5 separate regions of the Homo sapiens genome follow, and all the other regions are linked to region 2. Evidence: promoter capture Hi-C in 16 types of primary human blood cells and fetal thymus (Javierre and others, 2016). All regions are on one chromosome and are shown on one strand. Each heading gives the region's core, a stretch centred on a gene start or on the middle of the fragment in contact. The rest is flanking DNA. Distances are from core to core; before and after follow the strand shown. Region 1 overlaps EIF2AK4 (eukaryotic translation initiation factor 2 alpha kinase 4). Region 2 holds the start of ANKRD63 (ankyrin repeat domain 63). Region 3 overlaps GPR176 (G protein-coupled receptor 176). Region 4 overlaps EIF2AK4 (eukaryotic translation initiation factor 2 alpha kinase 4). Region 5 overlaps GPR176 (G protein-coupled receptor 176).

Evidence for each region. The method cuts DNA at HindIII sites, captures the fragments that hold promoters and counts their contacts. A CHiCAGO score of 5 or more calls a contact.
Region 1: a fragment that was not itself captured here is called in contact with the fragment with the promoter of ANKRD63 in region 2 in 1 of 17 cell types (total B cells); the score reaches 5.1 in total B cells.
Region 3: a fragment that was not itself captured here is called in contact with the fragment with the promoter of ANKRD63 in region 2 in 2 of 17 cell types (total B cells and naive B cells); the score reaches 8.3 in total B cells.
Region 4: a fragment that was not itself captured here is called in contact with the fragment with the promoter of ANKRD63 in region 2 in 4 of 17 cell types (naive CD4 T cells, total B cells, activated CD4 T cells and 1 more); the score reaches 6.2 in naive CD4 T cells.
Region 5: a fragment that was not itself captured here is called in contact with the fragment with the promoter of ANKRD63 in region 2 in 1 of 17 cell types (naive CD4 T cells); the score reaches 5.7 in naive CD4 T cells.

What each region holds. Positions count from the first base shown.
Region 1 is chr15:39,935,687-39,938,386 of GRCh38, reverse strand. The region is part of intron 1 of EIF2AK4 (eukaryotic translation initiation factor 2 alpha kinase 4); the gene reads right to left. Among named protein-coding and RNA genes, the nearest start is that of EIF2AK4, 2.9 kb to the right of the region's middle. The HindIII fragment of the contact is 2,037 bases long and covers 276-2,312 here.
Region 2 is chr15:40,281,792-40,284,491 of GRCh38, reverse strand. It overlaps ANKRD63 (ankyrin repeat domain 63), which reads left to right and starts at 1,428. Exons shown (of 1, transcript NM_001190479.3): 1 at 1,428-2,700. The coding sequence starts at 1,906. It also overlaps a transcript of PLCB2 not described here. RefSeq lists silencers at 1,467-1,536, 1,607-1,666, 1,677-1,946. The HindIII fragment of the contact is 15,046 bases long and covers 1-2,700 here.
Region 3 is chr15:39,801,715-39,804,414 of GRCh38, reverse strand. GPR176 (G protein-coupled receptor 176) reads left to right here. Exons shown (of 3, transcript NM_007223.3): 3 at 2,161-2,700. Among named protein-coding and RNA genes, the nearest start is that of FSIP1, 20 kb to the right of the region's middle. The HindIII fragment of the contact is 568 bases long and covers 1,167-1,734 here.
Region 4 is chr15:40,021,365-40,024,064 of GRCh38, reverse strand. It overlaps EIF2AK4 (eukaryotic translation initiation factor 2 alpha kinase 4), which reads right to left. Exons shown (of 39, transcript NM_001013703.4): 32 at 1,460-1,546. Among named protein-coding and RNA genes, the nearest start is that of SRP14, 16 kb to the left of the region's middle. RefSeq lists enhancers at 690-1,189, 1,190-1,691. The HindIII fragment of the contact is 831 bases long and covers 976-1,806 here.
Region 5 is chr15:39,885,738-39,888,437 of GRCh38, reverse strand. The region is part of intron 1 of GPR176 (G protein-coupled receptor 176); the gene reads left to right. Among named protein-coding and RNA genes, the nearest start is that of GPR176, 33 kb to the left of the region's middle. RefSeq lists enhancers at 710-1,240, 1,773-2,304, 2,305-2,700. The HindIII fragment of the contact is 997 bases long and covers 822-1,818 here.

The sequences.
Region 1 (2,700 bases), core at 45-2,544, 350 kb after region 2:
GGCTTTATAATAATCCTTGATAAATGTGTGGGTCCTTCCATAAAGCATAATTCTGCGAATGTGGTCTGGGGAAGGGTTAAGCACTCTTTGGTCCACAGGTCTTTCATCCACTCATTCACCCATCACACATCCATCACCCATATTTGCTAAGCACTGACTCTGTGTCAGGCACTGTGCTTAGTCCACGGAGGTGAGAACACAGATATGGTTCCAGCTCTCATGGAACTTCAGTCTGGTGGGGGAAAACAAACATAATAAACACATAAGTACAAGCTTAGAGAGTGCCGTTGAAGAGATGACGTGGTGCTCTCCTTAACAAACGACTTGGGGTGTGAGGGTATATACTTAAATGTGGTTATCAAAGAAGAACTATCTGAGGATGTAGCATTGAAGCTGAGACAAGCCAAGAGACCAAGCATTCCAGGCAAGGAAAAAAAGAGACTTGAAATACATTTGAGAATTATTTCATTCAGTAACAATTTTTGAAAGTTTTTTGTTTGTTTTACCAGGCACTGGGCTTGTAGGAATGGCATTTCAAATGAGTGGAAGACACTGAAAAATTCAATTGCCTATATTTGTCTAGCTGCCTAGCTGGAGGAGGAGGGATGCACACGGGGAGGTGGCCTAGGCCCGTACTTTGATGGAACGAAGAACTTAAAAAAAAAAACCTACTTATATCTTTATTTGATGAAAATTTAAAAACGAAGTCATGAACAAGTTAAAAGTAAACTTTGACGAATTTGGTTTTTAGTAACATTGGAACAGAGGGGGAAAAAAAACCCACAGGGACCATAAAAGAAAAAAAAGGTCATTTTGACTCTATCAACATTTTTTAAATCACATAAATTACGTAAATAAATGCATATAATTAGGAGAAAAATATATGCATTATATGACCCAAAATGCTAGTTTTCTTAAGATATTTAGCTCTTACAAATAAACAAGAAAATGGACCACAGAGTAGAAAAATAAACCAGAGTATGAGCAGTTCACAGAAAAAGAAAAATCAATGGTTTGTAAACAAAGGTGTTCTAGATAATTTATAAATAAATAAAAATTAAAATGAGATATGTTTCATTTATGTGGCAAAGATGAAAAAGTCTAACATATATAGTATTGTTGAAGATAAAGGAAAACAAACACCACCATACACTACTGGGGGATCCAGGGATTGAAGCAAGTTTTTTGGAGGGATGTTTCCAAAAGCTATCAAATTATAAATGAGCAGACCTTTTGCTGCTGTGGAAAGCTAGCCAAAATAAGTTAGTAATTTGTAACTATCTATAAATTATAGATACTTTAAACTAGCAGTGTCTAAACTTTTTACAAATGCAAAAGTTTTTAGCATGCACCTCAAAATGTTATTTATAAATGATATACATATGCTACTAAACTGAAATTTATATTACAACACATCCCCACTAAAAGAAGTTGAAAAAAAAATCTAACCTGAATTTATTGGCAGCAAATTTAGCCTGAACTGACATGAGGTTAGTTATAGTGTTTATTTGTTCAGTGTGAAATTTGAGTATTTCTATGTTTCATTGTGTTTGATTTTCGATGCTGCCCCAGACACTGAGGAAGGTATTAGGTAATGTGTGGAATGTGCACACATAAACGTGAACAGAAGCACTTCTGAATTCTGAAACCCATCAAGTCTCAAGAGTTTTGGATAAAAGGCTGGGCACGGTGGCTCACACCTGTAATCCCAGGACTTTGGGAGGCGAGGCGGGAGGACTTGAGGTCAGGAATTCGAGACCAGCCTGGCCAACATAATGAAACTCCATCTCTACTAAAAATACAAAAATTAGCCAGGTGTGGAGGCGGGTACCTGTAATCCCAGCTGCTCAGGAGGCTGAGGCACAAGAATCGCTTGAACCTGGGAGGTGGAGGTTGCAGTGAGCCGAGATTGCTCCACCGCACTCCAGCCCGGGCGACAGAGAGAAACTCCCTCTCAATAAAGAGTTTTGGATAAAGGATTTTGGACCTGCATCACTTTTCCCTGGCAAATAGCAGGTGATAATAAGTGCTTGTTGAATGACTAAACTCTGATTCATCCTTGAGACCATCAATTATTTGCCTGCCAGTCCTATGAATGTGTTGAGGCCATTTGCCCGGTGTACAATAGGCCACAGACAGCTATTTAAATTCTTCTGCCTGCCTTCTATAGTTTTTGCTTTGGTTTGTCTAGTATTCCATCTTGTTATGAAAGCCACCAGCTATAAATTCTTGAGGTTATCAATATCCCTACCTAAAAGAAGTTGCTTTTTCTCTTCCATTTTTCTGCAGCCCTAGGAGCAGACAACTAAGCTTGTATAAAGTAAACAAACTAGTTCAGAATGAAGCCTTAGGAGCTTTGTGTTGAGTCCCATGTACACTTTGAGACACCTATTTTGGCTGCTTCTTGGGCCTACTTCCTGATTCTCAAGGTTTGGGAAGATAGAAGTTCCCCAGTCACCAACTTCTCTGTCATGTTAAGGGGAATAATTTATATTTTTACCATTTCAGGTTAAAAATAACTTCATATTATTAAGCATTAGAAAAGTAAGCTCCCTGAGGGCAAGGATTTTTGTCTGTTTTGCCCACAGCTGTATTCCTAATGCCTAAAACAAATATTTAATGAAGGAAGAAGCACCCTGAGTTTGAGAGAGAATATTTTGTCCTGATAGCTCCAGAAGATGGTATTTCTTGAGGAAATCC
Region 2 (2,700 bases), core at 179-2,678:
CCGAGAGCCCTCTCCTGCCCACAACTCCATCTTTTCATCCAAGGACTGTGTTGGTACGTATTTAGCAGAAGAATTCAGCCCTCAGGTGACAACGTCCATTTTTTAAGTCCCAGTGTTGTCTTCTTAAGAGGTGGAACGTCTCGCACCCAGAACCGAGATTCTGTCTCTCTCTTACCCGCTGCCGGCAACAAAATGTGCGGCTCATGAAAAGTCTCAGTAAATTCTGCAGCTGATAACTGCTTTACTCCTTACTTTACAAATATCCATTCCAACCCTACTCACACCCTCCCCACCACCCACACCCAGGCTCTGAGGCGCCCTAACTCTGCTCCGCCCAGGCCTGTGTATCATCCCCCCTCCTCCAGGACCGAGGGGGACCTGCTGGCCGGAGGGAGAGGAGATGCAGTGGTTTCTCCAAGCATCTTACGGAAAATGGAACTTGTGCTCGCCTCCTCTCTTTAGGGGTCAGCCAGTGGTCAGAGCCAGAGCCCTGTGGCCTGGGGGTTGTTTTGTGCTCAAGGGAGAAGCGAGGGGCAGGGAACCTCGAGTGGGTCCCTAGCTCTTTCCAGGGTGGCGGCGCCAGGGAACTTTTAACATGTCCGCGGCACTCCCGGGTCCTAAGGAGCCCCTCCCTGGTCTGGGCGTCTACACTCTGCCCGCTAGGCAGCCACCAGGAGCTGGCACGCGGGCGCGTTGTCGGGGTTGGAGACGTCTGAAATTGGAGAGCGCACTCGGACCCCACCCCTCGTTCCCAGGGAGCGTGTGCGGGTGGAACAATTGTGTGTGAGTGCGTGATTCTCTGCACTTCGAGTGGCAGTTCCCAGCCAGGCTGAGCGCCCCCAATCCGCGGCACGTATACCCCCTCCCCCAAATTACTCCTCATCCGCCTTTCGCTGCCACCCCTAGCTCGCGCGTGGTCCAGTTCTGCGCTCATGGGGTCCCAATTCCTTTCACCCTGGACCGATGGGGGCAGCTTTCAGTCTTCCCCGACGAGGCCGAGGTCCCGCCAGTTTCTAAGGAGCCGAGGGCACCGACTCGGTTGGGGGCGGAGGGCGGGGAGAGAAGACTGCGACTTTGGGATTGGCCCGGTTGGGTGCATGTGGCCCCCGGCGAGCAGCCCCCGCCCCCGCCCCGCAACCGCCGCCGCATTCCCAGGGGAGCGCGGAGGAGGAACCGCTCCCCTACTTCGTGGCCCACGAAGGGGTGGGGGTCAGGAGCGGTCTCCCCCGCCCCGTCCGTCTCTGCCCTGACGGCGCAGTCCGCTCCCAGGACAGCCATTGCCATGGAGACCCCCAAGGCTATAAAGTCAGGTATCTAGGCGGGCGGCAGCTCCCGCGCCGCTGAGCCCCCCAAGTAAGGAGCAAGCGCCCTGGCGTGGCCCGGCCCCCGCGAGAGGGGAGGAGGCGGAGGAACGGCGCCAGCAGCTTGAGGAGCGGCGCGCCCCGCCAGGGCTGGAGGCAGGCGTGCACGGCGGGCGCCACCGTCGCTGCGGGGGAGCGGGGGCTGCCCTGGGTGCGGGTGAGTGGCACGGCGGCTCCAAACCACGAGGACTGAGGGGCGCCGGACACCGGGAAAGCGGCGAGAGACTCGGGAGAGGGTCGAGTCTCTGCTCCCGACGTCTGGTGGCGGGCCAGGAGCGGAGCCCGGAGTAGCGAGCAATCAACACCTCCAGGCGGGAGGCCCGGGGAAGGAGCGGCGACACGCCAGGCGTGCGGCCCAGGAGCGGCGGGGCAGTCGGAGCCTCCGGGACAGCGGAGTAGGAACCTCGGGACCCTCGGCTGCAGCCGCCCACGCGCGGAGGGAGAGGTATCAGAGCGCGGGCGGAGGCCGGAGCCCCGCGGGGCGCGAGAACAGGGGCGCCCCCGTGCGGAACTGCCAGGCTGCCCGGGCGCGGCGGCCGGGGCCATGCTCAAACCCAAGGACCTGTGCCCCCGAGCGGGGACGCGCACCTTCCTGGAGGCCATGCAGGCGGGCAAAGTGCACTTGGCCCGCTTCGTGTTGGATGCGCTGGACCGCAGCATCATCGACTGCCGCGCGGAGCAGGGCCGTACGCCGCTCATGGTGGCCGTGGGGCTGCCGGACCCCGCGCTGCGCGCGCGCTTCGTGCGGCTGCTGCTCGAGCAGGGTGCTGCAGTGAACCTGCGAGACGAGCGCGGCCGCACCGCACTCAGCCTGGCGTGCGAGCGAGGCCACCTGGACGCCGTGCAGCTGCTGGTGCAGTTCAGCGGTGACCCCGAGGCGGCCGACTCTGCGGGCAACAGCCCGGTGATGTGGGCGGCGGCCTGCGGCCACGGGGCGGTGCTCGAGTTCCTGGTGCGGTCCTTCCGCCGCCTAGGCCTGCGCCTCGACCGCACCAACCGTGCGGGGCTCACCGCGCTGCAACTGGCCGCCGCCCGCGGCCACGGGACCTGTGTGCAGGCCCTCACCGGGCCCTGGGGCCGCGCCGCCGCCGCCGCTGCGGCCCGGGGCTCCAACTCCGATAGTCCCCCTGGCCGCCCGGCCCCCGCGGCCAGCCCCGAGCATCGACGACCCAGCCCCCGCCGCCTCCCGCGGCCTCTCCTGGCGCGCTTTGCGCGAGCGGCGGGCGGCCACGGCGGCGAGGCTGGCTCAGCGGGCAAGAATTCGGGCCGGCACCGGGCGCAGGGCAGCGAACGGCCCGAGCTGGGTCGGAGCATGAGCCTGGCTCTAGGTGCGGTAACC
Region 3 (2,700 bases), core at 201-2,700, 480 kb after region 2:
AGTAGGAAAACAGGGCTGGTGAATTCCTATTTTGTTATTCACAGATGCAAATTACTTACAAGCATCCACATGTACACCTGAAGAAGAGAAGACAGTCTTTTCTCTCACTTCCTTCATAGCTATTCATTTCATGGTACTAAGTCAGCAAGTTCATCGGGAGGTCATCTACACTTCTTGCATCACTGTTTAGAGGTGTACACACTAAGAACATTATTTATAGTGAGCCTGTGTGCTTATGTTGCAATCTGTTTCCCAACATGTAACGGGATTGGAAATTAATGGAAGCCTGGGTTTGTTACATGTCAGTGAGCAAATGGCAGTCAGAGCCAGTGAACTCCTAAGCATCTATTCATGTGTACAGGTGGGGCCATCACATATTTACTGAGTTGTCATTACAAAACTATCTACATTCAGAGAAAAAAAAATGTGAAAGCATGCATCACTTATGCACTTCTTTCTCTTTTTCCCTCCTCCCAGAAAGAAATCTAGAACATATCTTACCATGCTCCCTCCTTCCCTGATTGTCCATGGTCGCTATTGTGTTTGCATCCCATCTCTTTCAGCCTGGAATGTTCCCCTTCAGCTGGTCCCCCTGCCAGACTCCACTGCAGTGTCTCCCTCTCTTGCTATTTTCCCAGGTGGCTTTAGGCGCTACCTGTACCTCCTTTGTGCCTGCCTCTAGTAGAGCTGTCATCTCCTTGTTCGTAATTATTAGTGTGTGTATCTTTGTCCCCGTTGGGTTTAGAGACATTCCTGTGTCTTTTCATTCTTATAACCCAGTGCCAGGCACAGGACCTGGTGCATAGGTGGTGCTCAGAAGTACCTGTTACAGGAGGCTGGGCACGGTGGCTCACGTCTGTAATCCAACCACTTTGGGAGGCCGAGGCGGGTGGATCAGCTGAGGTTAGGAGTTCGAGACCAGCCTGGGCCAACATGGCGAAACTCCGTCTCTACTAAAAATACAAAAATTAGCCAGGCGTGGTAGTGCATGCCTGTAATCCCAGCTGCTCGAGAGACTGAGGCAGGAGAATGGCTTGAACCCAGAAGGCGAAGGTTGCAGTGAGCCTAGATCATGCCACTATACTCCAGCCTGGGCGACAGAGTGAGACTCTATCTCAAAAAAAAAAAAAAAAAAAAAAAAAAGAAGTACTTGTTATCTGAAAGCTTATGTGCTTACTTGCCCTATGAGTGAATGGGTGTCACTAAGGTTGTAAGGTCAACCCCAGCATTAACTGACTGCACAGATATGGCCAAGCAAATGTGAAGAAACTGACCATATCTCTGAGAGCTAGTGGCAGCCCTTTTACTACAGATGTGGTTCTAGGGTGCAAAGAGTTATTCAGTTCCCTCAAATCACTGGTGATATTGAAACGGCATGCTTTTGGAATTCTGTTTAGGTGCTTACAGAATGATCAAGTTAAATATTGGAAGGAAAAACAATGTCTCATCTGATTTTAACAAAAATCTAATTGTGCAGGCATTTTAGACCTATTAATTGCCCTTAGGGTTACTGAGTGATTATCATGGGAGCAATGACTGTTGAGCAGGCATAACTTTTGTCAGCTGAATTGATTTTTGTGGAAGGACCTTGTCGGAGTCCATTCTTCATACTGGTTCTTCTGCCCTGAACAACTTTAATTGTTAATGATATCTGGACTGTGGCATAAGTCTGCTTTAGATATGTGTGTAGACAAACTTATTTCTGTTGGTAGCTTTGAAAATTGCCCTAAAGCTTCTTTAGCCCATATAAAATTGTTTACCAATTACCCTTTACCCTCAAATTGAAAAGTAGATATCTTTATAGCAGATGGAGAAATCTTTTATATGGAGGGTACTGTTTGCGATTTCATCCTGGTAGCAATAATTATAAAGCTAGCTATGAATTGAAATTATTTACTTGTTTTCCTGTAAAGCCTCATGAGGACAGGTTTGCTGCTCCTTTGGAAAGGTTTTTATTTTTTGGTCTAGTGACGCTTCTTATTGTACTTGCAAAGTCCTCAAAACTTAGGTCTGGCTTCCTGGATTCCCCCAGTGCTTTTCTGTCTTAGGCCGAATAGAAGAACTTGACCTTTCTTCCCTCTCATCTACTTTTGGTGATTTAGGTTCCCCTAATTTAAAAAGTATCTTCTGTGGAATTAATTTTGTTTGTGTATCTTGCAGGTACTACTCAGTCCTCTATCCACTGGAGAGGAAAATATCTGATGCCAAGTCCCGTGAACTGGTGATGTACATCTGGGCCCATGCAGTGGTGGCCAGTGTCCCTGTGTTTGCAGTAACCAATGTGGCTGACATCTATGCCACGTCCACCTGCACGGAAGTCTGGAGCAACTCCTTGGGCCACCTGGTGTACGTTCTGGTGTATAACATCACCACGGTCATTGTGCCTGTGGTGGTGGTGTTCCTCTTCTTGATACTGATCCGACGGGCCCTGAGTGCCAGCCAGAAGAAGAAGGTCATCATAGCAGCGCTCCGGACCCCACAGAACACCATCTCTATTCCCTATGCCTCCCAGCGGGAGGCCGAGCTGCACGCCACCCTGCTCTCCATGGTGATGGTCTTCATCTTGTGTAGCGTGCCCTATGCCACCCTGGTCGTCTACCAGACTGTGCTCAATGTCCCTGACACTTCCGTCTTCTTGCTGCTCACTGCTGTTTGGCTGCCCAAAGTCTCCCTGCTGGCAAACCCTGTTCTCTTTCTTAC
Region 4 (2,700 bases), core at 142-2,641, 260 kb after region 2:
AAGCTTCAAATTTTTTTCTGTAAAGGGCCAGATAGGAAATGTTTTAAGCTTTGAGGGCCATACATAGTTGGAGTCACACACTCTCCTTTGTTTGTTGTTGTTTTTTAACAAAGAATGTAAAAATTTCTAGTTCACAGACATATAAAAGCAGGCTATGGGCTGAATTTGGTCCAAGGTGTAGTTTGTCAATACCTCATCTAAAGTTCTACCTGAAGAAACTAAAAAAAGAATAAACTAAATCCAAAATAAGCAGAAGGAAGAAAATAGTAATGGATAAGAGTGGAGATGAATAAAATAGAAAACACATGAACAAATAAAAACTGAGAAAAATCAATGACACCAAAAGCTGGTCCTTGGAAAGACAAAACTGATCAATCTCTAGCCAGGCTGATTAGACAAAAAAGAGGGAGGACACAAATTACCCATATCAGGTCTGAAGGAGGGAGCATCACTGCAGATCCTAGAGACAGTGAAACAATAACAGGGGAATATCTGAAAACTCAGACGAAATGGAAAAGTTCCGGGAAAGATATAAACTACCAAAGCTGCCTCTAGAAGAAAGAGGTAACCAGAATAGCTCTATATATAGAAATATTTGAGATTGGACTTCTAATACTAATTGTATACAGTATCTTACAGAAAACAGAAGAGGAGAGAACACTCTCCAACTCATTTCATCAGGCCAACATTACCCTGATATCGAAACCAAAAAAAAATTAGAAGAGAAAAATATTTTTAAGAAAGTTTTTTTCCCTTTAAAAATAATTAGAAATAAAGGTTATGAGGTGGTATATTTATGAACACTTTTAGTTGAATACAAAAAAGTAAAATTGGTTACAAAGCAATGAGAGGATATGCCTATCAGCAGATACAACTTTACTTATTCTTATTTTCTTAGCTGGAAAAAGAGAACAAGAGGAGAAAAGTAGGAAAAAACCACAGCCAGTTTTTTTGTTTGTTTTGCTTTTTAAAGCTTTAATGAAGGTGGACTCTCTTCCTTATTTTATACACATTTTCTTCAGCAAGAAACCCAACAACGGCCGGGCGCGGTGGCTGACCCCTGTAATCCCAGCACTTTGGGAGGCCGAGGCGGGCAGATCACGAGGTCAGGAGACCATCCTGGCCAACATGGTGAAACCCCGTCTCCACTAAAAATACAAAAAATTAGCCGAGCGTGGTGGCGGGCACCTGCAGTCCCAGCTACCGGGGAGGCTGAGGCAGGAAAATGGCGAGAACCCGGGAGGCGGAGCTTGCAGTGAGCCGAGATTGCGTCATTGCACTCCAGCCTGGGAGACAGCGAGACTCCGTCTCAAAAAAAAAAAAGAAACCCAACAATGGAAAGGGAGAGTAGAGGGAACGGATTTCCAGTCACCTACACGGCCCGGGCCTCAGTGTGAAGGCAGGTGCTCCACAGGTAACACCTAACTATTGAATTGTAAAAAATCTCTGACGTCTTTACCTTGACATGGCTTCCTTCTTTATCCGAGACAAGGGCCACATAGGTGATTTCATGATGTCTGCAGTACTCTTGTAATTCCTCTTGGGACTGAAACAAACAAACATAGTAAAGAAAATAAACACAGAGCACCTGGAACAGCTTCAAGTAATTAAGGAGAATGAAAATACTGTTTCCAATTATATTCTCAATGTGAATTACTAAAATGCTGACTTCAGGGGGATATAAATATTAAGCAAGAAGCCGCATAGAATTCAAGGGAGGAACAAGGCCTCTCTTGCCTCCCTTCCCTTCATGATTGTTTAAAGGGCCATGAATAATCAATCAATAGTAAGAGGTTTTCAAAAGCTTCAAGACTTAATAAAAGATGCCCAAAATTATACAACACAACATACACACACACACACACACACACACACACACACACGCTGAAAAAGCCTCTGAGGAAAATGAAGGAAACAAAGGAAATAAGGGAAGGTGAAAAGCAGAACTGAAGAAGCAAACCAGGAGGGGGCAGAGAAGCCTGTGGGGTGTCACTGTGCAGGACTGAGGTCACTGGCCACGAGGCTTGGATTTTACTGCAGGACAGAACACTTCTCTAATGATTTATGAAACATGTGAACAAGTAGAAGAGGACACTGTTCTGTCAAATGATTAAAAATTGTTGCTCAGCACACTTCTGATGTGAATTTTGATACAACACACACACACGAGTAAACAGCAGCAGCTTCAGAAGCCTCCTGGCAGGTGATGTAAACAGAGCAGGTGGGAGGGTGGTGGGTCTGTGTCCCTGGTCATCGCCATGCTCTGGGGCACCTTTAGTGTGGGCGAATGTGGGTACAACCTGGATGATCTCCTGGGAGTGCACCCCTTCTATGGTCTGCTTACGCCCCCATTCCAAAGGGCAGGCATGTGTCCTGGGTGCCACTTTCCACACCTCCACACCCACGGCAAGTGTCAGGCCTGCATGCTGTGGGAGGTCTCAGGATACAGAGCCCAAAACACACTAAGCACTGAGTGCCTTCAGAAGTGTGGCAGGCTGGAGTACAGCCCCGCAAAGATGTCCATATCCTCATTCCTAGAACCTGTGAGTGATCAACCAGGATTATCTGGGTGGGCCCCACGTAATCACAGGGTGCATGTATGAGGGAGCTGGACAGACAAGAGTTAGAGACAGATGTAAGAACAGAAGCACAGGTCAGCAAGGAAGGAGGCGCTTCATTGCTGAGTGTGATGATGGAGGA
Region 5 (2,700 bases), core at 71-2,570, 400 kb after region 2:
GGCCTGTGCCTGTAGTCCTAGCTGCTTGGGGGACTGAGGTGAGAGGATTGCTTGAGCCCAGGAGTTTAAGGATACAGAGAGCTATGATCATGTCGCTACACTCCAGCCTGAGCAACAGGGTGAGACCTTGTCTCCAAACAAACAAACAAAAAAAACAAATAAAAAGCAGATTCCCTTCACCCCCCAAAAAAACCAACAAGAGAAAAGCAAGAAGTTAACACATATGTGTTATATGTATATGGGAGATACCAGAGAAGTGAATAGATCTCAAAGAGGTGGCTTAGTACTCTGGCTTTACAGCATTTTCAACAAAGAACAGTAAATATTTAGATAAATGACTGCAGAAAGGGAAAGGACCTTGAGTCTCTAGGCGTGGCAAACTGTGGGAAGACAAATAAAATACATGGGAAACTCCTGGTAGATAAAGCTAAGTTAGAAAGTTTGTTGTGTAGATTCATTCCTCTGGTGCCCTCTCCAGGCTGGTGATCAGCCTTTGTCCTTCCTAGACTCCTTTGCAGATAGGAGGATGGCAGAGAGCTTCTTTTATATCTGCATCTTCCCAGTTGCCTTCAACTCCAAATAATCCTTATGCCAAAGTGGCATATTTTGGGATGGCATATTCAGCTACCCTTCAACATACTCCTCTGGAAGAGGATTTAGGATTCTCAGTAAAGAACTTTGAATCTTTCCGCTTGAAAATCATTGTGCCAGGCTTACTAATAGGTGGTATGATTTGAGCGGGTGAGATTTTCTTCTAGGAAAATAAGTCCTCAGGAAATTCCAGAAGCTTTAGACAAGTAAAAGCAGAAAGGAGACAAGCTTTTTTTTTTTTTTTTTTAAATTTAAATTAACTGTTGGATGCTGCATAAATCCTGGTCAGGTTTGCATGATTCTGCAGAGCCTCTGCCTTTGCTGTTTTTCACCTGTTGGATGAATGATTCATTTGCCCCTGCTGTTTCTCACCTGTTGGATGAATGATGCTGCTGTTTTACACAGCGGCATTCCAGCAAATGTGGGTGGTGGGCCATTCACCTCTTTGTGTTGATCTGGAAATATGCATTGTTCCATTTATGCCTGAGCCACCTCAGTCTTCCTCATTAGCAAGGACTTACATATGCACTATGCTGGCTTGGAATTTAATTCTTGACTGTGCTGTTTTTAACCAAATAAGGAAAACCCTGGCCTTTTTCTGCTTCTAGGACCCAGCCACTTTTGAGTTGCCAGTGTGTTTCCAAGTATGGATTTTGGATTACCTGCATCAGAACCACTTCCTGTGCTTGTTAAAAATATTCATTTCTGGGATGCACTCCCAATCTACTGAACCACAGCCTCTGGAGTGAGGCTTAGGAATTTGCATTTTTAATATGTTTCTCAGGTAATTCATAGGTACATCAAAGTTTGAGAATCACTGGTTTAGACTCATAGAATATTAGAGAGGAAATAACCTCGTGTTCCCTTGGGGTCCCAACGTATGGCCCATTGGAACAAATGCAGACTGCTTGATGCTGGAGTTAAGCCTGGGAAAGGTTGGTAGCATACTTTTTCCATTTAAATTAGGAATTAGGATACCCACACAATCTGGTAGGTCAGTAAGGACAAAGCCCCCTCTTAAGGATCACTATTATGTGACACCTTGCTATTAGCAGGCCCAGGTCTGTCATTACAGTTGAAGGTGAACATAATTAATTACAGGCATTTCATTTTCAGCTGTTACAGTTTAATTCTCCTAATGTTATATTATGGAACCGGAACATTTGCATAATAATTTACAAAGGAGATCAGTGTGAGTAAGCACTTTTTGTGCCTTTGACTCAAGCTTTGTCACTCTAATTAGTATTCGTGTGCCAAGTGTGGATTCTCTCAACTCATTAAAATTTTTGAGATCATTCAGGCTTCACACTTAGATGTTTCAGACCATTTGGCCCACCGTTGAGGGAAAAACAACACAGATATCTTAACTTGGTCCAATGCTGTAATTTTATAGATGTGAAAATCAAGATGGGGGTGGGGGATGAAGTGACTTGTGCAAGCATGTCAGGGCTGGAACAAGTCCCCAGGTTGTGCTGCTTCTAGGTGGGTGTTCTTTCCTTCTTACTGCTGACACTCAGCAGGAGGGAAGTATACCTGTAAAATTCTCTGCTGAGTCTTACAGTTCCTGGTAGGCAAAGTCTAATATTCCCATTTCTTTCTTTCTTTTTTTTTTTGAGACAGAATTTCACTCTTGTTGCTCAGGCTGGAGTGCAATGGCACGATCTGGGCTCACCGCAACCTCCTACTCCCGGGTTCAAGTGATTCTCCTGCCCCAGCCTCCCGAGTAGCTGGGATTACAGGCGCCCGCCACCATGCCTGGCTAATTTTGTATTTTTATTAGAGACGAGGTTTCTCCATGTTGGTGAGTCTCATCTCAAACTCCCGACCTCAGGTGATCCACCCACCTTGGCCTCCCAAAATGTTGGGATTACAGGCATGAGCCACTGTGCCTGGCCTAATATTCCCATTTCTAAAGATGCATTGTTTAGTGTTCCCTTGTGAAAGCAGGGAAATTGCATTGAATTGTCTATTCAGTATGAGACTTGGAGAAACTGTCTTTCTCTTGTCTTCTACATCAGTGTCTTGTTCTACATCACTTTTTGAGATAGGTACAGTGCATGGCTGAAACATGTAATTATTTTTCTTTCTTGCCATAAGCAAATGGAATCA